2 separate regions of the Homo sapiens genome follow, and region 1 is linked to region 2. The links are contacts of gene promoters, found by promoter capture Hi-C in human tissues and cell types (Jung and others, 2019). All regions are on one chromosome and are shown on one strand. Each heading gives the region's core, a stretch centred on a gene start or on the middle of the fragment in contact. The rest is flanking DNA. Distances are from core to core; before and after follow the strand shown. Region 1 overlaps TNFRSF8 (TNF receptor superfamily member 8). Region 2 holds the start of NPPA (natriuretic peptide A).

The links. Contacts are between HindIII fragments. The study calls those that stand out against the background at their distance.
Region 1: a fragment that was not itself captured here is called in contact with the fragment with the promoter of NPPA in region 2 in 1 of the 25 tissues and cell types used here (bladder).

What each region holds. Positions count from the first base shown.
Region 1 is chr1:12,112,171-12,115,880 of GRCh38, reverse strand. TNFRSF8 (TNF receptor superfamily member 8) reads right to left here. Exons shown (of 15, transcript NM_001243.5): 8 at 152-304. Among named protein-coding and RNA genes, the nearest start is that of TNFRSF8, 51 kb to the right of the region's middle. The HindIII fragment of the contact is 4,748 bases long and covers 26-3,710 here.
Region 2 is chr1:11,846,355-11,849,791 of GRCh38, reverse strand. It overlaps NPPA (natriuretic peptide A), which reads left to right and starts at 2,009. Exons shown (of 3, transcript NM_006172.4): 1 at 2,009-2,230; 2 at 2,353-2,679. The coding sequence starts at 2,108. It also overlaps NPPA-AS1. RefSeq lists an enhancer at 1,183-2,973. The HindIII fragment of the contact is 8,124 bases long and covers 1-2,271 here.

The DNA.
Region 1 (3,710 bases), core at 1,150-3,649, 270 kb before region 2:
CTCAAAGGATAACCAGAACCCAAACCTGACCTAATGAACAGCCGAGGGTGTAGGTCATTTGCCTCCACCCCTGGCTGTTGGTGGGGAGAGGCACAACAGTGGGGGCACAGACTCCACCCTGTGGTCGAGGCCTGGGGTGGGAACTGCTTACCCTGGGGCTTGGTGACCGTCTCTGCTGCACAGATTGGGTAGGGGACACAGCGGGCACAGGAGTTGGTGGCTGATGTGGCACAGATCATGCCAGGTCGACATTCGCAGGTGCGGGAGGAGTTCCATGCACATGGCGTCTTCTCCACAAGGTCATCTAAGGGACACAGATGAGGATCACGGAGAAAGATCAGTATGGCAAGGGCAGGGGGTCCAGAGAGCCCCCAGGAAGACAGAGAAGCAGTTGTCCAAGGGTCATCCAACAAGAAAATAAATGCTCGTCTGACTATGCCGTTGAGCAGCTCTCCCAGCATGCTCAAAATAATTCTGCAGGGTGAAAGAAGGCAGGCAAAAAGCGAGGGTATTCTGTATGTCGCATTTACATGCAAGCTATTGCATGGTGACCATAAGCAGGGGATGGGAAATGGTGACAAGCAACCCGAGGTAACTTTTAGAGGGGGATGGCTGGTTGCTCAGCTGCATGCATTTGTTAAAACTTATCAGATTGCATCCTTTAATCTATGCACTTTACCATATGCCCACTATCTCTCCCTAAAGCTGTTAAAAGAAAGTCCTCCAGGGGACGGGGTGAGCGGGCATGGGTGCAGAGGAGCCAAGACTGGCCATGACTCCATAACCGTTTAAAGCTGGGTGATAGTACGCAGCCATCTCTGACTCACTCTACATCTGAATATGTTTGAAATTTTTAATAATAAAAAGATTTTTTGGCCAGACACGGTGGCTCACGACTGTAATCCCGGCACTTTGGGAGGCCGAGGCAGGCAGATCACAAGGTCAGGAGTTCAAGTCCAGCCTGACCAACATGGTGAAACCCCGTCTCTACTAAAAATACAAAAATTAGCCATGCCTGGTGGCACGTGCCTGTAATCCCAGCTACTCAGGAGGCTGAGGCAGGAGAATCACTTGAACCTGGGAGGCAGAGGTTGCAGTGAGCCAAGATAGTGCCACTGCACTCCAGCCTGGGCGACAGAACAAGACTCTGTCTATTTAAAAAAAAAAAAAAAAAAAAAAAAAAAAAGATTTTTTTTCCTCCAAAAGCAAAAAAAAACCATGTTAGAGGTATTATTTTTAATAAGTGTAATAATGCATTTGTACGTATTCGGGAATATTTTGCAACGCTCCACTTAGAGGTAAATACAGAACGACTGCATCAGTAGATTAGGCAAATGGGACCTCTCCGCGAGGGTAGATCTCAATCAGCAGGATACTTAGAGACCCAGCATGATAATGATAAGGGCTGGACAGTCTCTTCTTACAACATCCAGAGCAAGGGAACTGGGCAGGATTTGGGGAATTTGTGCAAAGGGTGTGTGTGAGCTCAGCAATGAATGAAACCATTTGGGACAATGGCAGCTATTATCATTATTATTATAGCTCTTAAGATAACTGAGTATGTGTGAGACAGTAGTCTCAGCACTCTACCCAGATTAACCTACAATCATGTATTCAATTCTCACATGGTTCTCTGAGATAGATAATACTATGCCCATTTTGCAGCAGAGGAAACTGAGGCACAGAGAGGTTAGGAAACCTGCTTGAGGTTATAGGCTATCAAGTGGGAGAGGCGGGATCTGAACCCGGCACTCGGGTTCTAGAGCTCATGCCTTTAGCTACTAATACACCACTCCACTGCCTCGTGGGGTTTCAGTTAGGAGAGCTGAAGGAATTACTGGGCCCAGAGCCAACACCTCTTTCTCCATATGTCCACATGGTGGTTGTGGCAGACTGTATTTCCCCAAAACATGGCTGCAGTGATGTTCTGGCCCTTCCAGAGCCTTTGCCACCTACCTGTCAAGAAGTACAACTGTTTTCCTTCCCTTGGTCTCAAGTGACATTTGTGGTTGCCTCAACAAACAGAAAGTGGTAGAAGTTCTGTGTGACTTCCAAGGCCAGGTCATAAAAGGAGGGGTGGCTGCTGCCTCTGTCTGTCTCTCTCTCTCTCTTTCTGTCTCTCTCTCTCTCTTTCTCTGTCTTTCTCTCTGTCACACTCTATCTCTGTCTCTCTCTGTCTCTCAGTCTCTCTTTCTGTCTTTCTGTCTCTCTCTCTCTCGCTCACTCCGTCTCTTTCTCTTTCTGTCTCTCTCTCTCCCTCTTTCTGTCTCTCTCTCACTCTCTCTCTCCCTCTCATTCTGTCTCTTTCTCTCTGTCTCTCTCTTTCTCTCTCTCACTCTTTCTCTCCCTCTTTCTGTCTCTCTCTCACTCTCTCTTTCTGTCTGTCTCTCTCTCTCAAGACTTTTATGGCCGGGGGCAATGGCTCATGCTTGTAATTCCAACACTTTGGGAGGCCAAGGCCGGCGGATCACTTGAGGCCAGGAGTTTGGGACCAGCCTGGCCAACATGGTGAAACCCCGTCTCTACTAAAAATACAAAAAAAGAAAAAAAGAGAAAAAGACTTCGCCTTTAGAACCTAACCACCAGACCATGAGGAAGCCCCAGGTAAGACACGAAGAGGCCGACATGGAAGGGAACCAAGGCTGCAGCCAGGAGCCAACATCAACCCCAAGGCAGGTGAATGAATGAAGCTTCAGAAGTTCCTGATCTGCAGCTTTTGGGCTTTCCAGCTAAGACCTCAGACATTGTGGAGCAGAGACAAGCTGTCCCCGCAGTGCCCTGTCTGAATTCTGACTCACAGAATCTGTGAGTACAAAGAATGATTTGTTTTCACAATTAAGTTTTAAGAAAATTTGCTATGCAGCCTTAGTAACTAGGACAGAGACCTCCAATGACAACAAACAGTGTCTGTGGTTCTTTTTGGCCTCCCCTGACCCTTCACTCTGCTTTGCTGCCCAAAAGCAGCTCTGGACAAGGAGACAGACACACATTCCCAGTGGCCTCCGTGAATAGCCAGGGCCTCTAACAGTCACAGCAGCCTGTGGCCTGAGCAACACCCCCTGCCCACATGCCCCTCGGGGTGCTGCTGGCGCTGGGAGGTTGTGATGGGCTGGGCACAGGGAAGCCCCACACCTGCATCGTGCTGTGTCTGTGCACTCAGTAAGTGCTTGTCAAAACAGCTCGCAGGCCGGGCATGGTGGCTCATGCCTATAATCCCAGCAATTTAGGAAGCCAAGGTGGGAGGACCATTTGAGTCCAGGAGTTCGAGAGCAGCCTGGGCAACATAGTGAGACCCCCATCTGTATGAAAAAAAATTTTTTTTAATTAGCCAGGCATGGTAGTGTGCACCTATAGTCCCAGCCACTTGAAAGGCTGAGGCAAAAGGATCATGTGATCCTGGGAGGTCACAGCTGCAGGGAGCTATGATCCCACCACCGTACTGCAGCTTGGGTGAAGGAGTGAGACCCTGTCTGGGAAAAAAAAAAAAAGAATAAGTGGCTCATAGGGGCAGCGAGTGGAGTGGACGAGAACCTGGAACCTGGTGGCACCTGTCTGGGTTCAAACTCCAGCCCACAGCCCTTGGAAGTTCCCTGACTTCCCAAAGCCTCCGTTTCCTCCTCTGTAAAAGGGGAATGATCACAATGCTTGAATCACAGAGTAGTTACAAACATTGATGAGCCGAGTTTGGAACAGGTGGGTGATTCACAAAC
Region 2 (3,437 bases), core at 760-3,259:
TACAGCCCCAGGGGCATGGGGAAGGTGAAGGAGCTCCCTTGGGGCATCTGAAAGATGGGGAATGGGGGTTTAATTGGGGAATGCAGCTAAGAGGTAAGGTGGCAGCTCTCTACGTGAAATAGGCTAGGATACAGACATCAGCGTCAGACCTGGGGATCCAGTCCTGGTTCCGCCACTTAGGCACCTAGTGGCCTTGGGCAAGTGGCATAGCCTCTCGGGCTCAGTTCTGTTCCCTTGTAAGCAAGGACAATGCTATCTACCACCTGGGGATGGTGATCAAAATAAAATCATTTCCATAAAGTTCTCAGCACAGTGCTAGGCATGCTACAAGCAACCAATAAAGACAACTATGATGGCCATCTTGCAGGGACTCAGCACTGCACACTTGTTATGTGTTGACACGTTCTCAGCTCACTTGGGCTCCACAACAATCCTGCAAGGTAGGCAGGGAAGATTTCTACTTTATTCATTCATTTATTTATTTATTTTTTGAGACCGAGTCCCACTCTGTTGCCCAGGCTAGAGTGCAGTGGTGCGATCTTGGTTCACTACAACCTCCGCCTCCCAAGGTCAAGCAATTCTTTTACCTCAGCCTCCCTAGTAGCGGGGATTACAGGCACATGCCACCACACCCAGCTAATTTTTATATTTTTAGTAGAGACAGAGTTTTGCCATGTTGGTAGGGCTGGTCTCAAACTCCTGGCCTCAGGTGATCCACCCACCTTAGCCTCCCAAAGTGCTGGGATTATACGTGTGAGCCACTGCACCCGGCCGGTTTTTAACATTCTTTCTCATTTTACACACAAGGAAAGTAAGGCTGCGAAGAGGTATGCAACTGGTTTGTTTTGGGCTACAGTACTGGTCTCTCAGCCCTTCAAATTTAGAGTTTTCCCCCAGTATACGTTGCATTGAATGGTAATGGCTAACACTGAGTTCAGTGCTTAGCAAACAGGCCATTCATTAAACATAGACAGACTTGCTGCCTGTTATTTCCCTTTTGGGGGCCAGGGAAATTGTGACCTTGGTGGCTCGGTCACTTGCCACTTGCCACGTCCTCAGGGAAGGATGTAGAAGGCATTGAGGGAAACTGACTATACCTCCTTCACCCCCACCTCCCTTCCTCCATCGGTCAAGTTGCCACGGGCACAAGCCCAGGAAGGGCAGGGGGATGTTAACAAACTTCAGACACGAAGAGTCTGAGCATCTATAAACAGCAACGGAAGAAATGAAATTGGCTGCGTCCTCTAAGCCTGTCCCCGCAGCATGCTGGAGGAGGGTCGCGGGGGACATGGAAGAGGAGGAGCTTTGGAGAGAGGATGCTTGTGCTCCCCCGCCTTTTCTTGCTATTTCTATTTGGGGGTTGGATTCCTGGGAGCTTCATCACATTTGGTTCTCAGCTGACTTTATATACTAAAAAATAACTTCCTTTCGCCTGACCATGGAGAGGGACTGCCAGGGGTGAAGGCAGCCCTGTCTGAGGCCAGAGGTCTGCCCACGTGGCGGATGAGGCAGGTGTGAGGCCAGCTTGAGCATCTGGATCCATTTGTCTCGGGCTGCTGGCTGCCTGCCATTTCCTCCTCTCCACCCTTATTTGGAGGCCCTGACAGCTGAGCCACAAACAAACCAGGGGAGCTGGGCACCAGCCAAGCGTCACCCTCTGTTTCCCCGCACGGGTACCAGCGTCGAGGAGAAAGAATCCTGAGGCACGGCGGTGAGATAACCAAGGACTCTTTTTTACTCTTCTCACACCTTTGAAGTGGGAGCCTCTTGAGTCAAATCAGTAAGAATGCGGCTCTTGCAGCTGAGGGTCTGGGGGGCTGTTGGGGCTGCCCAAGGCAGAGAGGGGCTGTGACAAGCCCTGCGGGATGATAACTTTAAAAGGGCATCTCCTGCTGGCTTCTCACTTGGCAGCTTTATCACTGCAAGTGACAGAATGGGGAGGGTTCTGTCTCTCCTGCGTGCTTGGAGAGCTGGGGGGCTATAAAAAGAGGCGGCACTGGGCAGCTGGGAGACAGGGACAGACGTAGGCCAAGAGAGGGGAACCAGAGAGGAACCAGAGGGGAGAGACAGAGCAGCAAGCAGTGGATTGCTCCTTGACGACGCCAGCATGAGCTCCTTCTCCACCACCACCGTGAGCTTCCTCCTTTTACTGGCATTCCAGCTCCTAGGTCAGACCAGAGCTAATCCCATGTACAATGCCGTGTCCAACGCAGACCTGATGGATTTCAAGGTAGGGCCAGGAAAGCGGGTGCAGTCTGGGGCCAGGGGGCTTTCTGATGCTGTGCTCACTCCTCTTGATTTCCTCCAAGTCAGTGAGGTTTATCCCTTTCCCTGTATTTTCCTTTTCTAAAGAATTTGCTGGACCATTTGGAAGAAAAGATGCCTTTAGAAGATGAGGTCGTGCCCCCACAAGTGCTCAGTGAGCCGAATGAAGAAGCGGGGGCTGCTCTCAGCCCCCTCCCTGAGGTGCCTCCCTGGACCGGGGAAGTCAGCCCAGCCCAGAGAGATGGAGGTGCCCTCGGGCGGGGCCCCTGGGACTCCTCTGATCGATCTGCCCTCCTAAAAAGCAAGCTGAGGGCGCTGCTCACTGCCCCTCGGAGCCTGCGGAGATCCAGCTGCTTCGGGGGCAGGATGGACAGGATTGGAGCCCAGAGCGGACTGGGCTGTAACAGCTTCCGGGTAAGAGGAACTGGGGATGGAAATGGGATGGGATGGACACTACTGGGAGACACCTTCAGCAGGAAAGGGACCAATGCAGAAGCTCATTCCCTCTCAAGTTTCTGCCCCAACACCCAGAGTGCCCCATGGGTGTCAGGACATGCCATCTATTGTCCTTAGCTAGTCTGCTGAGAAAATGCTTAAAAAAAAAAGGGGGGGGGGCTGGGCACAGTGGCTCACGCCTGTAATCCCAGCACTTTGGGAGGCCGAGGCAGGCGGATCATGAGGTCAAGAGATCAAGACTATCCTGGCCAACATGGTGAAACCCCAGCTCTACTAAAAATACAAAAATTAGCTGGGTGTGGTGGCGGGCACCTGTACTCTCAGCTACTTGGGAGGCTGAGGCAGGAGAATCACTTGAACCCAGGAGGCAGAGGTTGCAGTGAGCAGAGATCACGCCACTGCAGTCCAGCCTAGGTGATAGAGCGAGACTGTCTCAAAAAAAAAAAAAAAAGGCCAGGCACGGTGGCTCACGCCTGTAATCCCAGCGCTTTGGGAGGCCAAGGCGGGTGGATCACGAGGTCAGGAGATGGAGACCATCCTGGCTAACACGGTGAAACCCCGTCTCTACTAAAAATACAAAAAATTAGCCAGGCGTGGTGGCAGGCGCCTGTAAGTCCTAGCTACTCCGGAGGCTGAGGCAGGAGAATGGCGTGAACCCGGGAGGCGGAGCTTGCAGTGAGCAGAGATGGCACCACTGCACTCCAGCCTGGGCGACA